Regions from separate parts of the Homo sapiens genome. Here regions 1 and 2 are each linked to region 3. The links are contacts of gene promoters, found by promoter capture Hi-C in blood cells and fetal thymus (Javierre and others, 2016). All regions are on one chromosome and are shown on one strand. The core of a region is centred on a gene start or on the middle of the fragment in contact, and the rest is flanking DNA. Distances in the headings are between cores, read along the strand shown.

Region 1 (4,290 bases), core at 622-3,121, 610 kb before region 3:
AGAGAAAGAAGGTAGAGAAGCTAGAGAGAGAAAGAGAGAAGAAAAATACGGAAAGAAAACATCAGCGAAGTACAGTAATTCACGAACTTTTCCCACAGCTAAAGTACAAGGGTTTCTAGATTGAAAGGGAATGTCCCATGCTAAGCAAAGTAGACACCACCACCATGAAATTTCAGAGCCCTGAGATCAAAATATATTCTACAAGATTCCACAGAGGGAAAAAAAAAAAAAATACAGGTTGGGCACGGTGGCTCACACCTGTAATCCCAGCACTTTGGGAGGCTGAGCCGGGCGGATCATGAGGTCAGGAGTTCGACACCAGCCTCACCAAAATGGTGAAACCCCATCTCTACTAAAAATACAAAAATTAGCCGGGTGTGGTGGCACATGCCTGTAATCCCAGCTACTCACAAGGCTGAGGCAGGAGAATCGCTTGAACCTGGGAGGTGAAGATTGCAGTGAGCTGAGATCACGCCACTGGACTCCAACCTGGGTGACAGAGCAAAACTCTGTCTCAAAGCAAAAGAAAATAAAAAATAAAAAATCATATACCAAGGTTCAGGAACCAGCATAGCTTCAGACATCAAGAAAACCAGAAGAGGCCAGGCGAAGTGGCTTACACCTGTAATCTCAGTACTTTGGGAAGCCTAGGCAGGTGGATCACCTCAGGTCAGAAGTTTGAGACCAGCCTGGCCAACATGATGAAACTCTGTCTCTACCAAAAATACAAAATTAGCCAGGTGTGGTGGCGTGTGCCTGTAATCCCAGCTACTCGGGAGGCTGAGACAGGAGAATCACTTGAACCCAGGAAGTGGAGGCTGCAGTGAGCCAAGATCACACCAGTGCACTCCAGCCTGGGCAAGACAGAACGAGACTCCACCTCAAAAAAAAAAAAAAAAAAAAAAAAGCCCAGAAGAAAAGGAGCAATGCCTTCAAAATCCCAAACAAAACAATTTCCAACCTGGAATTCCAAAACCAACCAAGCTTGTAATCAAGGTTAAAGGTAAAATAAAGGCAATCTCAGACACATGTTTACCAAAAAAAGTTTCTCCATGTACCCTTTCTCAAGAAGCTACTAGAAAAAGTATTCCACCAAAATGTGAGAGTAAACCAAGGAAGAAGAACATGAGAAGACACAGAGTATAGGTAGCAGAAGACTCAATCCGGGAGAAATGTGAAGGAGGCTCCAGAGAGACAGCTGCCAGCTGGCCTGACGGCAGGCAGTCCAGACCAGAGCAGGACAACAGAGGGCTGAGGACGTATACCTCCAAGAGAGAAAAAAAAGAAACAGATTCCTTATTTTGACAGTATTGAGAAGGATTTTACAGCTCTCGCAGTTTGGGGATTAATTAGTGAAAGGTACCAGGAAAACCAAAGGAAAAACAAAGTAATGATGAACTTTAAGGAAAATGAAGTTTTACAAGAAAGAAAATGTGATCAGAGTATACAAGGCGACTCAGCTGTGAACATGGCAGTAACAAATCTTACACAGACTTAACCCAAAAGGTATTCAAGCCACACAGGGAGGCTGCAGAAAGGGGAAGCTAATGTGTCCCTGGGTGTGGGTGCTTCTGAAGGAGGTATAGAGAACTAAATTCTCATCGCCCAAGCAAGAAGTCCTCAGACATCTAAAACTGAAAAACTGATCAACAGTAAAGATTATTTAGAAACATGGGGTAAGTACTAGAAGAAAGAGCTAAAGATGAGAGAAGCTGCCTGCAGAGCAGTAGTAAAGGATGGGTGGAGACGAGTAAGATGGAGGAATGTGGCCTGGCACAGTGGCTCATGCCTGTAATCCCGGCACTTTGGGAGGCCAAGGCAGGTGGATCACGAGGTCAGGAGTTCGAGACCAGCCTGGCCAACATGGAGAAATCCCATATCTACTAAAAATACAAAAATTAGCCGGTTTGGTGGCGCACACCTGTAATCCCAGCTACTCAGGAGGCTGAGGCAGGAGAATTGCTTGAACCCAGGAGGTGGAGGTTGCAGTGAGCCAAGATTGCACCATCGCACTCCAGCCTGGGCAACAGAGCAAGACTCTGTCCCAACAACAAAAAAAAAAAAAAAAAGAAAAAGATGGAGGAATGCTTCCCCTCAATTATAAGCTATGTTAAAAATCACTAGTTTCCGTCCAATGACATCCTTCCCTTCTTCTCTGGTTATCCAGGTACAAGTCTGCCTAGATAAAGGCTGATTTTCCAGACTCCCTTGCAGCCAGGTGTCAGCCGGGTTTCCCCGCTCTTGTCAACAGCAGATACAACATGTGCAACTCTTGAGCCAAGCTCTTAACAGGGAAGGAATGCACTCTCCTCTTCTCCCCTTCCCACTGGCCAGAATGCCCAGATAACAAACCCTGAGTCCTATCAGAGTATCCATTTCACACCAAGAGATGGACACTGTGTTGAGGGGTGATAGAGAATCAAGACAAAAGGTACCAGTATCTCTGACATGATGGAGCCATCCTTCTTAAGCCAAACTTATATTCTGTTTAAGCCACTGTGATTTTGGCCTTTTACACAGCAGCTAAACCCATATCCTAACATATAAATCCTTCAAAAAAAAAAAAAAGCACTTAGTTTAGGTTTATTAATAACTCTGAAAATCTGAAAAGTATGTTAGAAGAAAACCATCAGTTTGTTCCCTGGAGGCCTGGTTAAGTAAAGTACTATTTTTAATTAGTAACACTTAGGATCAAACTAGAAAGATGGAACACATTTCATCAACAGAACTAAAAAGTCAGATGCCTGGTACAAGCTTTACTCACCTTTTGGATTTCTAAATGAGAGTCAGAGTCATCCAAGAACTCTAGGGGTGGAGAGCATTTGTCAATGACAGTCCTTCGGTCCCCAAGGGGCTCCTCACTGGGTTTCTCTTGAGGGTCTATAACTACTCTCCTGTCATAGAAGCTGCTCCTCTCTGGCACTGTCTTATCCTCCTCCATGCTGACCTCTGGGGTTGCGTCTTTCTCCTTCTGAGCAGCAGTGACTGTGACACTCCTGGCTGCTCCTTCTGCAGTCTTGGCTGGTCCTTCACTCCTGGCTGGTCCTTCTCCATGGCTGGGATGCTCTGCTGCGCTTGGTTTTGCCCGAGTGGCAGCCTCTCCCTTCCTTTTTGGCATCGATTTCCCCAGGATGCCCTGGATAGCCTTCAGGTAGATCATTGTGGAGCCCTGGTCTCGAAGTCTATCCCTCTTCCTTTTCTGGACCTTGTTGGGTTCCTCAATTGTATCATTCTGACCCTCAGCTTCAGCTGCAAATTCAGAGTTTGTGGAGTTATGAGAACTATCTTTGGAATCAACCTGGGAAAAAAAAAACAGAATTGAAAGGGCTGTTCCAAGGGCACTTTCGTACATGAAGCATTTGGCAAATTATAAATCAGTGGTGGTTCTACCAGTCAAAGGGAAAGTGACTGTGGCTAAGGCAAAGGTTCTCTCCGGGTGGTGAAGTGGCACTGTAAGAGGGGCTGATTGCTGCCATTTCTTAGCATTCGCCTTCTCATGCTCAGCAGATGATATCCTTTCACTGCAAGGGGACGGAAGGAGCTGAAATGAACACTCTCATTAAACCAGACTGCAAGCTCCTGGAAGGCAAGGACTACACTTCAGGCAAAACAGCAGCTCAAGCTCTTCCCACTGGAAAGGGCCCTAGAAACCAGCTAGCCCAATCCCATATCTAAGGGTAAAGGAAACCTGAGGACCCAGTGAGGGGAAGGGCTAGCCCCAGGAACTCCAATCCCCCAGTTCTGAGTGCAGTGTTTTTCCCACCATACCCAAAGCCTCCTGAAAGTTCTCTGCAAACACTTCCCCTCAAATAATCAACTTGGTTTTGGAAAATACCTCAGTTTCTCAGTGACTGCACCAGGGTCAGTCAAGATAGACTGCTCCCAACAACAAACCTCCTCCAAGACGGAAGTGAAGCCTCAGCCCCCTCTTGCACCCACTCACTCCAGGACTCCACACAGAAAAAGCTAGACTTTGTTTGCCAGACTATTTTGATGTGAAATTCTAATCCAGTCTAATCCCTGCCGGGTGTAAGAACTCTCCACAAATGTCCTCCTAAGGCCATTCCATAAGCAGTAAACCATTATCCCATTTGCATTCCTAAGTCATTTCTATTAAATTCCTCTCAAAAGTAAATACAGACCAGGTACAGTGGCTCATGCCTGTAATCCAGCACTTTGGGAAGCCGAGGCAGGTGGACTGCTTGAACCCAGGAGGTCGAGACAAGCCTGGCCAACATGGCGAAACCCCATCTCTATAAAACACACGGGGCGCGGTGGCTCATGCCTGTA
Region 2 (4,296 bases), core at 394-2,893, 640 kb before region 3:
CACGTCCCACCCTGAGGTCGTCCTATGGCTCTTAGCGGTCCATAGACTAAAAGGCTGGATGATCAGCAACGCTGAGACAACAGTTTCAGTACAGCAGTGGGGATGAGAGGCAAGGTCAAGTTTTGAGGGGCCAGGACACAGCAAAGAAGAGGACACAAGGAAAGGGGAAGGAAATGGAGATGGTAACACGAGGGGAGGGTGGGATCGGTGCACAACAGACGTTTTCAGGATTAGGAACCTGGGTGTATTTTAAGGCAGAAAGCAGAAGCCACTGGAGGGGAACAGAAGACACGAGAGAGGCAAAGTGTTAGAGCTTTGGCCCCAAGATGGCCGGAGGCTAGGGAAGCCCCAGTGAGAGAGGCAGAGCTTGGCGAAGAGGAGGGATGAGAGAGCATGGCTAAGGTCAGGGAGGATTTAAGAGCGATGGCCGCCTATCTAGAATGAGCCGCATGTGGCTGCTGAGCATTTGAAACATGGCTAGTCCAAATTGAAATGCACTGTAAGAACACACACTGGATTTCAAAGACTACACATCTGTAATCCCAGCACTTTGGGAGGCAAAGTCAGGCAGATCACTTAAGCCAGGAGTTCAAGACCAGCCTAGGCAACATGTCAAGACTCTGTCTCTACAAAAAATACAAAAATTAACTGGGTGTGGTGGTGTGACCTGTAGTCCCAGCTACTTGGGAGCCTGAGGTGGGAGGATCATCTTAGTCCAGGGAGGTGGAGGCTGCAGTGAGCCATGATAGTGCCACTGCACTCCAGCCTGGGTGACAGAGCAAGAACCTGTCTCAAAAAAATATATATGTATATTCATTTAGACATATGCTGTTGCACACTTAGACTATAGTATGGTATCAGCATACGTTTTATATTTACTGGGAAACCAACAAAATTCGTGTGACTTGCTTCATTGTGGTCTGGGACCAAAGCTGTAATGCCTCCAAGGTATGCCTGTATATTTCTATTGCAAAATGTGAATCTCGAAATTATAAAAGCTACAACTAGGACAAAAAGCAACCCCACCAAATAGCCCTATATCAAAGAATAAAATCTCTTTCTAGAACCCCAGAATTTGCCTCTTTCAGACTGAAGTTTAGCCAAATCTATGAAAAAAGAGCTTGCTAAACCAACTAATTATCAGTACAAATAAAATTATAATGAAAAGTCTATGAAGATAATTTGTTCTCAGATGCCCTTCACATATAGCAATTAATTCACAAATGATGAGTCACTCATGTGCCTTCATGAAGGCAGGCCCTCAAGAGACCCGCAACAGAAAGGAAAGCCACCGACTGGAGAGAACCTGCTTCCTGAGCCCCACCAAGTTCCAAAAAGGAGAATGGGGCTTCGTCCTCACCCTCAAGGAGTTGCCAAACTGGGCTTGGTTATTATTCACACTTGAAAAGAATGAGGAAGGTCAGCCAGTCCCCTCCAGGTCGCTCGGGCTTCCTCCAAGCTCCTCTTGGTTCAAATTTGCTGTGTCCTCCAGCCGGCATCTCTCCTCTGTTCCGTAACTGACAGGGCAGCGAGGTAGCTTCCGGATGACTCCTCCCGCCATGGTTCTTCCGTCCATCAGCTCTTCCTTCCTCAACTCTGTGGTATGTGGCTAGGGGAGTTTCCAACTCCCAGGGGACATTTCAGTTCCCCAAAGATAACACAGCTTTGCACAGTGGATGTTTACTTGCTGGTGGTCTTATCTAAGATCAACATTGGCAGCTGTGCCCGGAGAGGCCTCCAGGGTCCAGGTAAGTGGAGGCTTCATGTCTCAGGAGGTACCTGGTCACCACAGTTAGGATTTTTCTGTTTGGGGATTTTTTTTTTTATGGGTTGGTGGCTCTGAAAAAGCTGCAAGTCTTCTCTGAGGACTACAGACCTCTCTCCACCCTCTCCACATTCAGCCTCTCTGGGCTCCAGGGCCAAAAGATGTCTACACTCAGGTGGCAGACAGGCCTGTGAAGACCTCCTGGTGACATGCTCATATGTTGCTGGGACTAAAGGTGGGATTTTAGCCACCACAGTGGGTTGGTGGTGAGATGTTTACCAACAGGAGGTACTTTGTCCCTCATGTCCACTTAAAGATTCAGTCCAACCCGGCCTGTGCTTCTGCTGTCCCAAGAGACTCTAGAAAGCTCCAATCCTCCCTGAGGTTGATCTTTTAAGTCAGGGTAGGTGGTCATTCGGCAATCAACTGCTCTACTGCCTCAATGTCCTCCTCACTGGACGTCCTGCCCCAATTCCATCCTGTTCAGCGCAGACTGATTTTCCTGGAACACAATGTTCATTATGGAGCCAGATGGCATATCAGAAAGAGCACTGTATTAGGAGTCAAGAGATCCATGGGGGAATCCCAGCATTGCCCCTGATGGCTGTATAGCTTTGGGGAAAGTGAGGCCCTCTTGGCATTCAGTTTTTCTTCCAGCGAAATAAAGGATTCAGCCTCCCAGAGCTTTAAAGTCTTTCCAACTCTTTCATTCATTCTATGGTCTCTCTCTCCTCAAGAATCCTCAGTGGCTGCCCTCCTGCAAAAAAAGCCCAAACTTCTTGGGCTAGCAGTTCCCAAGGCATCCATCACCTGGCCCCAAACCACCTTCTTATGTTTTTGTTATGACCCCATCGCCACCCTCCCCCAAGCCACCCAGCCTTCTCCATGCTGCCCTGATGTACTCTACCCACGCCTTCACCTCCCCTCTGCTTGCCGCAAAGCCCTCCCTCCAAAGCCCTGCCCCGAGTTCACCACAGGCCTCTTTCCTGGAGCCTTTGCTAACATCCCTGCCGCAAGCCCCAGCCTAAGGTGAGCTCCTCTCCTGAACTGCTAGAACTTCTCTGCAGACAACTCATTGGCCCTTAGGGGTTCCTGCCTGGGCACCCAGTTGGATGAAGCACTCCAGAAAGGAAGAAATTCCTGGGGCCGAGGGAAATGAGGCAGTGGCCTTGGCCTATGCTGGGAAGTCCTATGGGCCTGGTATGAAACCATTGTCATCTGCAGGGTGTTTCACAGGTTAGAAGCCACTTTCCCCCCATCGCCTCATTTCACCCTCAAAGACTCTGGGTAAGGGGAATTATTTGTGGTCGGCGTAAGGCCAGTCAATGAGAGAGGAGCCAGGCCCGTGCTAAGCGTAGATCTTCCACCTCCAGGTCCAATGCACTTCCCTCTCAGAAGAGGCATCCGCTAAAATAGGGACCAAAGCTGCTGGAGGGAGGCAAGGCAAGCTGCTATGTGAAAAAACGCCAGGCCAGGCAGTCATGTCACACCTGGCAGAAATGACTGAAGCATAGCCACTGGCTGAAGTTATCCCCACACCCACTCTCTGGAGAGGATGATCAGGAGCAGTCTGCTCAACCGGGAGGTGGGACTCCTCCTCGGGAAGGTGTAGAATCACCAGCCTGGCTCCCTGCGGACTCCCGGGGCTCACAGAGGCCAGAGCAGCAACAGCACATGGGAAACAACGGGGCGCTGGACTGGGGAGGTCTCAGAGCTCTCCTAGTGATGACAGCCTCATTTTACCCAGGGAGAAAGGGCGAGTAAGCTAAGGTCACACAGCAACAAAGCTGCACCCAGACCCCAGAGCCACTCTCCTCCCTCCCTCCTCCACCAGGGCCATGCCCACTTGGGGCACCCCGCCACCGTGTTCCAGGGACAGCTGGAGCACATGCTTCTTCCCTCGCCAACCCAGCAATTCCGCAGGGCATCTGACCTCCACTGTTGACTTCTACCCAGAGGACAAGAACATTTTTAGTTCCCAAGGAATGTACATCAGCCCCACGGAAGCTAGGCCACCTCTGGGATGGGGTTGCTGGTTTAGAACAAACGCCAGTCATCCTATATAAGGACCTGACAGCCACCAGGCACCACCTCCGCCAGGAACTGCAGGTAAGCTCTCTCTACTCTCCGTGTGCGTTTGCTGACAGGTTTATTGTCCGTGACTGCTGCCCGTCCGTTTAACCTCTCTGGGCCTCAGGAGTCCCCTCTAAACACGGGGGATGTCGGACTGTCTGGCTGGAAGACAGAGCTTCATTTAGGAGCTACCTCTAACCCCCTCCCTGCTGAGTGCCCTGGGGCCCTTGCTGGTTCAGCTTCCTCCCTCCTCATGAAAAGACTCGCCATGAGCTCTCAGAGCCTGGGACAAAAGGCACCGGGGAGGACCCCCAGCCCCTATCAAGTCCTGCTGCCAGGTGTTCTGCCCTGAACGGCCTTGGAGAAGAGAACACACATCCATCATCTTCTACCTTGGGAGGTGGAAGCGGGGGTCCTCTCTACACAGCAGTCAGGACCCCAGATGGTAAAGCCCTTCA
Region 3 (4,644 bases), core at 1,914-4,413:
TAGAGTGCAATGGTGTGATCTCTGCTCACTGCAACCTCTGCCTCCTGGGTGAGCCACCACGCCCAGCCAACAAAAAATTTTTAATAGAGATGGGGTTCATGTTTCCAGGCTGCTCTCGAACTCCTGGGCTGAAGCAGTCTACCTGCCTTGGCCTCCCAAAGTGCTAGGATTACACGCGTGAGCCAGTGTACTGGCCCTCTTCCCCATTCTTTAGCCATAGACTAGTACCTACAAGCTCTATTCCATGCAACCAGTAAAAGCTGCAAAGTCTCTTTATACACAACTTGCTGGTGAAATAGAAGAAACAGCTCCCCCTAAAATTACTTATTTTGATCACAGTTCAGAGAAAAACACAACAGAAAAAAGGCATAAGAACTGTAACATCAAGAAGTTTGCAAGAGGGCCAGGCATGGTGGCTCACGCCTATAATCCCAGCACTTTGGGAGGCACCGAGGAGGGCAGATCACTTCTGATCAGGAGCTTGAGACCAGCCTGGCCAACAGGTGAAACCCTTTCTCTACTAAAAATACAAAAATTAGGCTGGGTGCAGTGGCTCATGCCTGTAATCCCAGCAGTTTGGGAGGCCAAGGCGGGCAGATCACGAGTTCAAGAGATTGAGATAATCCTGGCCAACATGGTGAAACCCCATCTCTATTAAAAATATAAAAATTAGCTGGGCATGGTGGCGGGCGCCTGTACTCCCACCTACTGGGGAGGCTGAAGCAGGAGAATCGCTTGAACCCAGGAGGCGGAGGTTGCAGTGAGCCGAGATCACGCCATTGCATTCCAGCCTGGGCGACAGAGTGAGACGCCATCTCAAAAAAAAAAAAAAAAATTAGCCAGGCATGATGGTGCATGCCTGTAGTCCCAGCTACTAGGGAGGCTGAAGCAGGAGGATCGCTTGAATCCAGGAGGTGGAAGTTGCAGCGAGCCAAGATCGCACCACTGCACTCCAGCCTGGGTGACAGAGGGAGACTCCTTCTGAAAAAAAAAGTTTGCAAGAAGTTAGTCCAAAGGTAGTGAGTTATCTCAATCGATTGTTCAGTTACAGATCTAACTCCCTGTTCTGCCTGAATTGTTATAAATACATATAAATATATATACATCTAAGTTTGCAGGAGATCAGAAGGCCTGGAGAGATAATTAAGGCCAGCCGCAGCCAATATGAGGTGTAACTTATGCTAACCCTAATCTTCAGGGTCATGTAAGTTGGAAGAGGGGTCCAGAAAAACCAATGACCTACAGCCACTCAAAAGACCCTTACTGGCCAGGTGTGGCGGCTCACGCCTGTAATCCCAGCATTTTGGGGGGCTGAGGTGGGAGGATTGCTTGAGCTTAGGAGTTTGAGACCAGCCAGGGCAATATAGCGAGACCATGTCTCTAGGAAAATAAAGAAAAATTAGCCAGGCATGGTGGTGTGTACCTGTGGTCCCAGGTGCTTGGCAGGCTTAAGTGGGAGGATCGCTCAAACCCAGGATTTCGAGGCTGCAGTAAGTCATGGTTGCACCACTGCAATCCAGCCTGGGCAGCAGAGCGAGACCCTGTCTCAACACAAAAAACAAAAACAAACAAACAAAAAAGCCAGGCGCGGTGGCTCACGCCTGTATCCCAGCACTTTGGGAGGCTGAGGTAGGCGGATCACCTGAGCTCAGGAGTTCAAGACCAGCCTGGCCAACCTGGGGAAACTCCATCTCTACTAAAAACTACAATAATTAGCTGGGCGTGGTGGTGGGGTCCTGTAATCCCAGCTACTTGGGAAGTTGAGGCAGGGAGAATTGCTTGAACTGGGGAGGCGGAGGATGCAGTAAGCTGAGATTGCGCCACTGCACTCCAGCCTAGGCGACAAAGCGAGACTCCTTCTCAAAAGAAAAAAAAAAAAAAAGCAAATTCCAGGATCCCACCCCCAGAAATTCTGACTTGGTAGGACTGGGTGGGACTAAGGAATCTCTGTTTTCACAAAGTATCCCATAAGCACAAATTTTAAAAGTACCCCAGATGATCATTAAACAGGTGGTCCCCAGACTATACTTGGAAAAATTACTTGGCCATTTGGAGAGTGAGGAAGTCCAATCCTTACTGAAGTCTTCCCTGGGTTACTTCAGAGACTACAAGATGCCAACTACAGAATAGCAACTCACGGTAATCTCTGAGGTCAAATCAGAGTTCTGTGGTGCAGGATGGAACAGAATTCCACTGGAAAACTTGGTGCTAAAGCTGCCAAAACCACGTGGGGGAATGAGATGGCAGGGTCGGCAAGATTCCCACCGCACTGCCAGCCAGTGCTTAGGGTGGGGATGGCCTGAGCTGACAGGAAGCCCTCCAGGTCTGGCGATAAGACGACTGGGTGGAAATCCCAAAGGGAGCAAAAAGAGGAACGGAGACCTGCTTTAGATAAAGGAACTGAAAGGGAGTGTGGGTTGTCTTCCTGCTCTATAGGGGAAGGAAAGGGATGGGCCTAAGTCATGCTGAGACCTTATAAGGGGGCAGCACACTGGGTTCACCTCCTGGCTCCATTCTGACCTCTGACCCCGAGGAATCGTCTCCCTATTTTTCTTAGCTTTTTCTTGGGGCTTTTTCCCTGACACAACTCATCCTACGGCACCTGAAGCAGGGAATAGACCTTCCTTAGGTCCTCCTCTCTGATCTTTGAACCTGGCCCCTCAGCTTGATCTCTCACCTCCAGACCCCTTCTCAAACAAGAAGGACCTCTTTGCTGGGCTCATTCTGACCCCAGTTCCTCCTTTTATGGTTGTCAAGACCGACTCTTATACTCCGGATACAGACCCTGGAGAACTCCTCTCTCTCTCTCCTCTTCCTCAGCGGCGAGGTACCACTCCTACCTTTTTCTGACCCCTGGCCTCAGCCTTTCCTCTGTAACTTCCCAAGTTAGGAGCCTTCCCCAGCTCATCGCACCTCCAATCTCACCTTAGAGCCGCCGGTCCCGCTGCCATCCTTGGCCCGGTACTGAGTCCGGGAGAACTCCTCCAGCAGCTCCCCAAGCCCCAGCTCCTGAGGCGGCTGGTTGCCTGAAGAGGCCGAGGACCCCGCCGAGGCAGCGGCGGCGGCGGCCCGAGCGCCGGCCATGGCCCAGCCCCGCGTCCCCTCAGTGTGCCTCAAGCGGGCCCATGGCACCTGCCTGCACCCAACTCCGACACTAGAACCTCCGGAACCGCCTCAGCCACCGCCTTCTACTTCCACTTCCACTTCCGGCCCCGCCCCGTCCCGCCGGATGTTTACTCCGACTCTGGCCAATCGGAGCTCTGGACCCGCGCCCCGCCTACGATTACTGGCCCGCCCCCGGCGCAGAGCGATCCTTCTATCCACCAGGGAGGCCACTGGCTGATACCGCGTGATCCGCCCCAAGGGGTTTCCCCCGGGGAAGCCGGGCTCAACCATTGGGCTGCCGGGGGAGGGGGGTAGCAGGAAGGAACCATTGAAAAGAACCAGAGGAAAAGTGGAATCAACAATTACAGGGAAGCCGAGCGTGGTGGCTCACACCTGTCATCCCAGCACTTTGGGGGGCCGAGGCGGGCGGATCACTTGAGGCCAAGAGTTCGAGACCAGGCTGCCAAAATGGTGAAACCGCATCTCTACTAAAAATAAAAAAATTAGCCGGGCATGGTGACACCCACCTGTAATCCCAACTACTTGGGAGGCTGAGGCAGGAGAATCGCTTGAACCCATGAGGCTGAGGTTGCAATGAGCCGAAATCGAACCACTACACTCCAGCCTGGGTGACAGAGCAATACTCTGTCTTAAGAAAAAAAAAAAATTACAGGGCGAGGAGGAGAGAACGCTTGGAGGCAACAAATTAGTACTAGAAACCATAATGGCAGTGGTTACCAATATTAAAACATTTCAGCCGGCCGCGGTGTCTCACGCCTGTAATCCCAGCACTTTGGTAGGCCGAGGCAGGCGGATTATGAAGTGAGGCATTCGAGACCAGCCTGATCAACGCAGTGAAACCCCGTCTCTACTAAAAATACAAAAATTAGCCGCGCGTGGTGGCAGGTGCCTGTAATCCCAGCTACTCGGGAGGCTGAGGCAGGAGAATTGCTTGAACCCGGGAGGCGGAGAGTGAGCCGAGATCGCGCCACTGCACTCCAGCCTGGGTGACAGAATGAGACTCCGTCTCTAAAACAAAAACAAAAACACAACATTTCATAAAACCCTTTCTCCCCCTGCTGCTCACAACATCCCTGTGAGTACAGTGCATTATATCATCAGCCCTATTTTATTGAGGTAGAAACTGGGAGTCAGGGAGGTGAAGCGACTGCCTTGAAATTCTGTGATGAGAAGCCTCTCATTATTATTATTATTAGAATATTTCAGACATTCGCAAAAGTGGAGACAATAGTATAATGAACCCTCATGTACCCATTAACTGGTTTTGAACAATAATCAACATCTGCTTATCTATCCTGTTTAAGCAGTCCCTTCCCATCCAGGGAATTATTTTAAAGCAAATCCCAGACATCACATTATTTCAGCTGTGAATACTTAAGCATTTATCACAACAGATTTGTACTTCAAAAAAAAAATACATAAAAAATATAAGGCTATTAACATGCCTAAGAAAATTAACAATATTCCTTAATGTGGTCTAATACCCAGTCTGAATGAAAGTAATTCGTTTTTGTTAAA

What was found. Contacts are between HindIII fragments. The CHiCAGO score rates a contact against its expected background, and 5 or more counts as called.
Region 1: a fragment that was not itself captured here is called in contact with the fragment with the promoter of MTMR14 in region 3 in 1 of 17 cell types (monocytes); the score reaches 5.3 in monocytes.
Region 2: a contact is called between the fragment with the promoter of GHRL here and the fragment with the promoter of MTMR14 in region 3, in 2 of 17 cell types (neutrophils and monocytes). The highest score is 6.5, in neutrophils.

Annotation. Positions count from the first base shown.
Region 1 is chr3:10,259,145-10,263,434 of GRCh38, reverse strand. TATDN2 (TatD DNase domain containing 2) reads right to left here. Exons shown (of 8, transcript NM_014760.4): 3 at 2,765-3,298. Among named protein-coding and RNA genes, the nearest start is that of TATDN2, 13 kb to the right of the region's middle. The HindIII fragment of the contact is 1,770 bases long and covers 987-2,756 here.
Region 2 is chr3:10,290,294-10,294,589 of GRCh38, reverse strand. GHRL (ghrelin and obestatin prepropeptide) reads left to right here and starts at 1,643. Exons shown (of 6, transcript NM_016362.5): 1 at 1,643-1,748; 2 at 3,139-3,874. It overlaps GHRLOS (ghrelin opposite strand/antisense RNA), which reads right to left. Exons shown (of 6, transcript NR_073568.1): 6 at 1,141-2,522. RefSeq lists enhancers at 1,451-1,745, 1,556-1,805, 1,816-1,885, 3,397-3,999. The HindIII fragment of the contact is 7,186 bases long and covers 1-4,296 here.
Region 3 is chr3:9,648,024-9,652,667 of GRCh38, reverse strand. It overlaps MTMR14 (myotubularin related protein 14), which reads right to left and starts at 3,163. Exons shown (of 19, transcript NM_001077525.3): 1 at 2,926-3,163. The coding sequence starts at 3,084. RefSeq lists silencers at 2,999-3,098, 3,199-3,308 and enhancers at 3,180-3,349, 2,636-3,531, 3,339-3,568. The HindIII fragment of the contact is 16,951 bases long and covers 1-4,644 here.